Linked DNA regions of Homo sapiens: all the other regions are linked to region 2. Evidence: promoter capture Hi-C in 16 types of primary human blood cells and fetal thymus (Javierre and others, 2016). All regions are on one chromosome and are shown on one strand. The core of a region is centred on a gene start or on the middle of the fragment in contact, and the rest is flanking DNA. Distances in the headings are between cores, read along the strand shown.

The links. The method cuts DNA at HindIII sites, captures the fragments that hold promoters and counts their contacts. A CHiCAGO score of 5 or more calls a contact.
Region 1: a fragment that was not itself captured here is called in contact with the fragment with the promoter of NSMCE3 in region 2 in 1 of 17 cell types (total B cells); the score reaches 5.1 in total B cells.
Region 3: a contact is called between the fragment with the promoter of UBE3A here and the fragment with the promoter of NSMCE3 in region 2, in 1 of 17 cell types (total B cells). The highest score is 7.3, in total B cells.

Annotation. Positions count from the first base shown.
Region 1 is chr15:25,421,459-25,424,433 of GRCh38, forward strand. The region is part of intron 1 of UBE3A (ubiquitin protein ligase E3A); the gene reads right to left. Among named protein-coding and RNA genes, the nearest start is that of UBE3A, 16 kb to the right of the region's middle. The HindIII fragment of the contact is 1,378 bases long and covers 867-2,244 here.
Region 2 is chr15:29,268,456-29,271,230 of GRCh38, forward strand. NSMCE3 (NSE3 component of SMC5/6 complex) reads right to left here and starts at 1,367. Exons shown (of 1, transcript NM_138704.4): 1 at 1-1,367. The coding sequence starts at 1,250. The coding sequence ends at 336. The region is part of intron 2 of ENTREP2 (endosomal transmembrane epsin interactor 2); the gene reads right to left. RefSeq lists enhancers at 662-1,163, 1,164-1,663. The HindIII fragment of the contact is 8,019 bases long and covers 1-2,775 here.
Region 3 is chr15:25,437,633-25,440,332 of GRCh38, forward strand. UBE3A (ubiquitin protein ligase E3A) reads right to left here and starts at 1,392. Exons shown (of 13, transcript NM_130839.5): 1 at 857-1,392. RefSeq lists enhancers at 508-1,453, 1,454-2,399 and silencers at 537-956, 1,317-1,656. The HindIII fragment of the contact is 4,364 bases long and covers 79-2,700 here.

The DNA of each region.
Region 1 (2,975 bases), core at 306-2,805, 3.8 Mb before region 2:
GACACAAAAGGACAAAAATCGTATGATTCCACTTATATGAAGTACCTGGAAGAGTCAAATTCACATATGAAGTAGAACAGTGATTACCAGCAGATAGGGAGAGTAGGCAATGAAGAGTTACTGTTTAATGGATAGGGTTTCAGACTGAGAAGATGAAAAAGTTTCAGAGATGGATAGTGGTGATGGCTGCAGAATAATGTGAATGTACTTTATGTCACTGAACTGTACACTTAAAAATAGTTAAAATGGTATATTTGATGTTGTGTATTTTAGTACCACTTAAAAAAAAACACTGCAATGGGATACCACTACACACCTCTCAGAACGTGTGCAATTAAAGACTGAGAACATCAAATGCTGACATTTGGAGAACTGGAACTCTCATACACTGATGATGGGAATGTAAAGTAGTATAATCATCTGGAAAATAGTTTGGCAGTTCCTTATACATTTAAACATAAACTTACCATGTGACCCAGTAATTCCAATTTAAGGTATTTACCCTAGAAAAATGAAAACATATGTTCACACAAAAACATGCACACAAAACAGTACCTTTATTCGCAACAGCCTAAAACTGAAAACAATTTAAATGTTCACCAGAAAATGAATGAACTGTGGTATAGTCATATTGTATTTAAAAAAACGAAACAAACAAAAATCTGTGACAAACACAAATTGGATGAATCTCAAAAACATGCCAAGTGAAAGAAACCAGGCATGGAAGAGTACATGTTACTTGATTCCATGGATATGCAATTCTAGAGTAGGAAAACTAATAAACAGATCAGTGGTTGCCTGGGGCCAAGAGGGAGAAATGACTACAGACAGGAAGGAACTTTTTGGAGGTAATTCAATTGTTCTAAAGCTTGATTGTAGTAGCAGTGATAGTGTATATATTTATCAAAATCAATAAAACTATATAGTTAAAATGGGTGCATTTCATTGTGTATCAATTATACATCAATAAACTTGATTTTTTTCAAAGTTTGTGAGAACTTAATATAGAAAAAGGTGGCATTATCAGTGGGGAAAGGATGCCTTACAAGACAATCAGCTACCCAAGTGGAAGAAAATAAAAGGTAGATATAATTCCCAAACCATGACAAATGCAATCCAGATCTAAACCATATCATACCATATCCAAAAATATGCTGAATGCTCATATCTAACTTTCTAAATTAAAGTCTATAAAGTAAAATCACAAAAGTATCAGAAGAAAATACAAGAGATTGGCCAGGTATAGTAGCTCATGCCTGTAATCCCAGCACTTTGGGAGGCTGAGGTGGGAGGATAGCTTGAGGCCAGAAGTTTGAGACCAGTCTGGGCAACACACTGAGATACGTTCTCTACCAAAAAAAAAAAAAAAAACCAACCAACCAAAAAAAAACCAACTAGCTATAGTGGCACATGTCTATAATCTTAGCTACTTGGGAAGCTGAGGCAGGAGGATCACTTGAGCCCAGGAGTTTGAGGTTGCAGGGAGCTATGGTTGCTCCAGCCCGGGTGACAGAGTGAGATCCTATCTCTAAAAAGTTTTTGTAATATATATATGAGATCATATTTATATCAACTTTGTTAGCATGCTGAAACCCAGAAACCATAAAAGATGGACAGATTTGCCTACATAAAAACTTTAAAATTTCACATGACTAGATACTATAAAATTAAAGGTAGGTAGAGATAATATTTGCAAATTATAATAAAGAATTAAATGATATATAAAGAATGCTTACAAATTTAAAAAACAAACACCACAATAGAAATGGACCAAAAAACCAGGCAATTTCCCAGGTTATTTATAAAGACTTAAACAGATTTTATATATACATGAATCAAAACAAGGTAAATGAGCAGTCCCTAATATATTTTAAGGAATGAAACTTGCTAAAATTATTTTTTAAAAGGTAATTGGCAAAACCTATCAAATATTTAGATTGACATGATCTAATGGCCTGACATCTTATTTGTAGGAATCTACCTTACAGAAAAAATAACAGGTACCATCATTGCAAAAGCAAATATTGAAAACAACCGAATTTCCAAAACAGGCAAAGGGTCTCATAACATCATGAACTCTCAGAGTTAATTCCTAGTTCAGTTCTAAAGATTGAGAGAACACATCAGATTTAGAGTATTCCATCTCAGGTTTCTCAAGGACAATTTTTCATTAAGGCCTAATTTATTATATTTTAAAACATGCTTTTCCATCCTTTTTTCTGTTTTTCCTCTTTTCCCCCCACAAGCTTATATGGTAAAATTACCTGTAGTTAAGTGGGCATGTGATATGATGCACAGATTTAATGCAATAATTTATAAGAATTATCCAACTCCATTCTCTCAGCTGCTCTGGTCAAAAAACTTTGGCATCATGTTTTACTCCTCCCTTTATTTCCCACTTTCATCTGGTCTACTACCAAATCCTATGGACTCTATTTCAACATATATCAAGAATTCAACCACTTCTCACCACCCTCACTGTGACCACTCTGTCCATTTCAGTCACGTCTTAATCTGTACTAATGGTCTACCAATTGGTCTGTTTCTGCCCTTGTCCCCTTTTTCAGTCTATGATTAACACAGCAACCAGAGTGACCTTGCTAAACATAAGTCATACTTTTTCACTACTCTGCTCAAAGACTTCCAATAGCTTCCCATCTCACTTATAGGTAAAAATCAAACACCTTATTATGATCAAAATATCTGTACCCTCCATTCTCTCTATTTCCCATCAATTACTTTTCTAAAGCTACACTGGCCACACCTCGAGTTCTTCAAACACATCAGGCACTCTCACTTTGGGGTTTCCCTATTCACTACACTCTGCCTGAAATGCTCTTCCCCCAAATATCCACATGGCTAGCTCTCTCATCTCCCTCAGTTCTTCACCCAAGTTACCATTTCAGTGAAGTTTTCTCTACCTACCCTATCTAAAATTTCCCATCATCCTTTTCACCTGCAAACACTTCCCTTAT
Region 2 (2,775 bases), core at 117-2,616:
TTCTTGGCACCAAAGCAACTTACTTATGTGTTCCTTCTTGCATTATCTGTTCCAGATCATAGTCAAGTTTTCCAATTCGTTTTACTAAGCTAGCAAAATTTTTTATACCAAAAAGAGTAAAATCAAAACAAATGCTCCTTTGTTTATAGATGAAAATCTGGAGCAAAATAACACAACATTAAAAAAACAAAACTTTGCAAACACATCCTAAAGCTACACACATTGAAGCGTTTACAGCAATATGCTCCCTGGGTTCGTTCTCCCTTCCCCCAATCCTCTAAACTGTGCCTTTGGGTCTCAGACCCTTGTCCCGGGGGTCCCTCTGAATCCACCTTTCAAGAGGATGGAGCTGGGCCACTAGGCTGAGGTCTGGCCCTGTTCTCCTCATCTGCCAAAGCCTCACAGTACTGCGCTGGCCAGTCCTTGGGGTCTTGATTATGGACCTTGGCCACAAACTTAAGAACTTTCATCTTGCTGGTTTCCAGGTTGGTTCGCGGGCCCCACTGGAATTCGTAGTCGACGGGGTCGGTGTGGGGTATCCGCCGGTATTCCAGGTAACGCTGTCGCACAAAGTCCTCAGTAATGAGTTTCTTTGGATCTCCGAAAATTAAATGCTTCTTGGTGGGGTAGACCCCTAAGCGCCGCAGAAAGTCCCAGGCTTCAGTTTCCTTGATGGTGTTGCCCTTCATAAAGATGAGCCCTAAGACGATCATCAGGAGGCCCGTAGTGGGCGTGCCTTGGTCACCCCTCATCTCGGCATCCTCCTCCACAGGCTCCAGGGTGTTGATGAGGATGTAAGTGTTGCTCTTGGGTTCAAGTTCCACCAGCTTATACCCGAAGACGTACTGGAGGCGCTCGGCGGCCCGTTTGAAGAGGTCGGGGAAGATGTCCTTGTAGTCCCCGATGACGTGCTTCAGTATGTCGGCCCGCTTGATCGGAATCTTCTTCTGGTCTTTAATCAGCAAGAACTGCACCAGCTCGGACACTTTCAGCTCCAGCTGCTTCTGGCTCCTGGGCCCCACGGCGGGGGCGGCCTGGGCCCGGCGGGCGCCCTGAGGCGAGGGGCCCTGCGACCCCTGCGAGCCGCCCGGCCCGCGGGACGTGCTCGGGGCCTCCTCGGCAAAGCCGTCTCTGAGAACCCGGGCGTCTTCCCCGGCCCGCGAAGCCCCGGGGTTTCCGCTATGGCTCCAGTCTCTGTCCCTCTCGGCCTGGCCGCCAGAGCGGCCCCGGTTCCTCGGTTTTTGCAACATGTCTCCGGCGGCAGGTGCCGGCGCACACTCCGGTAGGCAAGCAGCCGCGGCGGGGATTGCGGGTCGGCGACCCGCTAACGCCGGTGCCTGGAGGCGCGCGCAGTGTCGGCTGAGACTGCGTGCTGCGTCATGAAGCCTGCGCCTTGCGTCAGGGCGGCTGGGCGGTGCGCCTGCGCGGCTGCGGCGGGTACCAAAAGGAACAGCGTTTTCCGTGCAGCCCTGCAGGTCCGGGCGATGATTTTTAGTATAGTGAAGTGTTGTTACCAAACCATGCAAACAGAGAGCGAGAACCGAAACTCCTAAACAAGTGTGTCGCTAAATTCAGACCACACAGGCTCAGGCAAGTTTTACAGACAGTATTATGAGTTTCTAAATCGGGAGCATTTGTAAACGGAAAGAATTCAGAGGATGAACGTGTGAGAAAAAAAAAAGGTGAAGAGGAAGGGCCGACCGTGGAAGTAAAGTAAAAACATTTATTTCTACACAAAATGTAGAAGGACATAAAAGACCCAGAGGGCTCTTAGTTTTCGTCCCTCCACCCAATTTCATACCCTCCATCCCACTGCCCCCAGTTACTTTCTCTAATGCCCCGTGGAGTCTGTTAAAAACCAAAGTCGGCTGCAGGCTTTCTGCGCAAGCAGGACTTCAGTTTCACTATTTCCGTATTTATATTCTCTGCATTAAACTCCTTTAGCTAGACAACTATGAGAAGACCACAAAAAACGTGTCAGTATTAGGTAAATGTTTTAGCTTGGTCACATGGGTTTATCTTTTGGAAAACAACTGCTTTCGTCACAACCACAATTTTAGCAGAAATGGGTAAGAGGAATGCTGCAAACAAACGTGCACTCTCAAGAGATTACTACTTAATTTGGGGCATCACTGATCAAGAATTGCAATAATGTGGAGCTCTTAAATTTCTTAATTCATAATATATTAGCTTTGAGGAAAAAAAAGAGAACACTGGGGGATTTATCTCTCATCTATGATGTGATATACAGTCTCTACTGTATATTTTAATTGTGCAACTCAAGTAGCCAAAATGAGTCATTTCATTAACTCAAACCATCAGCAGTCTGCTGCCATGACTTCTACAGATCTTAGCAAATTTGTTTCTTCTCTATTTACTTGCAAAGAAGAAACTGAATTTCCCTGTGTCTTTTTAAAGCTACCCAGAAAGTGGATAAACTCTTCAAAGAACCAAATTGAGTTCCTCTTTAATGCAAATATATTCAAAGGAAAGCAATTTAGAACACATTATCTGAGTAATAGCATCAAACACAACCTTATTAAAATTTTGTTAATTGTTAGTAGCATAACACTTTTGTTTGTAATTCAGTAGGAAAATGCAATCTGATAATGGCACTGGAACTGCAATAGTAAATGTAAAATCATATTCCATGAACTAATGCAAGTATGCTAAAATCTGGTATGCAATGAGTAATAACTTACTGTTCCACACAAGATGCAACTATATCCTCAGGCATCAATTTTAATGACAAAGGCCTACTATGAAAAACAAATA
Region 3 (2,700 bases), core at 142-2,641, 3.8 Mb before region 2:
TGGACTGTTACTAATTTAGCATATCCATAAAAAGTCATTTAAAAAATGTAGACGCTAAATTCTCTTTCAAGGTTGCCAAGCTTCACCAGTGTCTGTATTAAAATTATTTCTAAAATTTTACGGACTAAGGCATTTGGTACATTCAATTCTACCTTTACCAACAAAAGCCTTTACCACCAAGATGAGGAAAGCATCCTTTTCATTTTCTACACTGAAAAGGGGGGGGAAAAAAGGCCAACTGCTTGCATACAGGTCTGCATATAACACAGCAGTCTCTGGCAAAGCCAATAACTCACGTTCAACTTCAGAAATCCTGGTGGCCGGTAACACAGAGTAACCTGTGCGCACAACCCTTGGGCTTGACATACCACTTCATCCGCCCTCCCTTCCCATCAATCCACCCCCAAAACCCCAACCCACCAAGCACACGGCTAAATATGTCTTCCCCAAGAGAGCCAAAAACCTTGAAAACGCCGAGAAAGGGCTCCCCTTTGAAGGAAAGGGCCTGCCCTTCCCTGTCTGGGGCCCCGGCTGGCTCGAAGAGCCTGGCTCCTAGGAGGCCCAAATCTCGACGCCTCGCACGTCCCGCCCCGCCCCGGGCCCGCTCGCGTCCCCTCGGGCGACAAAACCCTCCCGCCGTCGCTCAGCCAGGACTGACAGTTACGGCTGCAGCAGCCGCGGCCACCAGGGGCCTACTTCTGGCACCAGCCCCTTCGGACCACGCGCCCCCAAACACTCGCCTCGGCGGCGGGGGGCGGGGAAGGGGGGTGTCGACCTCGCCACAGCGGGCCCCGAAGGCCGGCCGAGTGACGGAGGGGAGCCAGCGCCGCCTGGCGCAGGCCGCGGCAACACTGACCTGTCGTCGCCCCCGCGCCTGGGCTGCGGCGGCCGCCTCACTGGTCGTAGTCGCCCTCGCCCGCCGCCTCCGCCCGCCACCGCCTCGTTCTCTTTCGCTGCCGCCACCGCCGGGGCTCATGCGGGACCCGCGCTTCCTTATCCGGAAAACGAGGCCGGGAAAGGGAGCGCCGGGGCCGCCGAAATCCCGGCGTTCGTCGCCAGCCGCCGCTGCCTGTCCACACCGGGGGGCTGAGGGGCCCTCCTGCCAGGGGCTACAGGCCGCGAGCTATTCCGAGGAGGAGCCGAAGGAGGCGCCGCCGCCCGCAGCCGAGCGCGCCGGGTCGGCAGAGGTGAAGCGTAAGTAGGCGGCGGATGGCGGGCGCCCGCGCTGGCGGATGGCTACGCGGCGGAGGGGTGCGCGAGCGAGCGAAGCCTGGTGTGTCGGGTCCTGGCGAAGGGAAAAGGCCCCGTCGTCTCCTGTAGTCACCCCGAGCCCAGCGCCACCATCTTGGGAGACACACGGATCTCGCGGCCGCGGCGCAAGACGGGAGGACTGGCTGGGCGGGCCGAGTATCCCGGCAGGCAGCGCGCGCCGCCCGGCCGGGCGAGGGCTCCAGGCCGGGACGCGGGGACGTGGGGCGGGGCCAAGACGCGCGGGAGGGCGCCGCGCTCCGCCCCTCCTTCCTTCGCCGGCCCCGCCTCCCTCCCGCTTGCCGTCGCCGCCGGCGCACGGGCCATTGGGAAGAGGAGGTGGCCTGCGGCCCCTCGGAGTCCCACCAGGCTCGGTCGCCATCTTGCGACTGGACAGAAAGGGTAATCCCTCTTTTTAGTTTCTGCTGTCTGTGACCCGAAAGAATAAACCTGGGACTTCCGGAAGCCCTCTGGGCACCCCCCCCCCCAGGAGGGTTGCAGAGCCCCTTGGTGTACCCAGCAGAGGAACGCCTCAGACTTTGTTGGGAAACGAATGGCTCTGAAAGTTAGCTGAAGCCGCTGGAATAGCCCCCCAGCCCCGAGGCGGGGCAGGTGCCTGCCGTTATTGGCTTTTCGACCCCAACCCTTTTCTATCTGGAGCTGCCTTTGTAGATGTTGCAGGGGTGCCCCGAGAGTGCAGGCCAGATTTTAGAGGACCAAGGTCATCTACTTAGGCCTCTTGCCAACACAGGATGTGTCAACTAGTTTACCAGAGACGAAGGTAAAGTCCCGTCTCCTGCAGTTGTTGACGTTCAGTAGGTCGTCGGTTAAGAAAAGTGGCTCCCTGGTTGACCCCAGCTGGATAGAGGCTAATTTTGATCCATATGACAGCTGAACGTAGTTAAAGCCATTAAAATTAAATCCATTTAAAGTCATATTTGGTACCAGGGTCACCATTTTAAAAGGTGTGTGTGTGTATGTGTGTGTGTGTGTGTGTGTGTGTGTATAGCTTTACAACACTTGCTAGCAAAGCCAAAAGAGTATCACTAACAATTCATAGTGTTACAACTTGCAACTTTGTTGATAAGCCCTTGAAGTACTAGATGAGTACCCATGTCTAGTATTCAGATTTTTTATATCAACAGTCGTACATAGCAGTGTATCTTTTTTAAATTTATTTTTATTTTTAAACTTAGAAATGGTGTCTTGCTATGTTAGGCCCAGGCTGGTCTCGAGCTCCTGGCCTCAAGTGATCCTCCCACCTCGGCCTCCCAAAGTTTTGGGACTACAGGCATGAGCCACAGTGCTCGGCCAGCAGTGTAATTTTTAACTGTCAGTCTCGGAACATCTTTTTTGTATAGCCAAGTGTGTGGGTGTGTGTGTGTATCCGCCTCACAACTATAACCAACCATTGAAAAACCAACAATAAGCTAGAAGAATTTAAGTTATTCC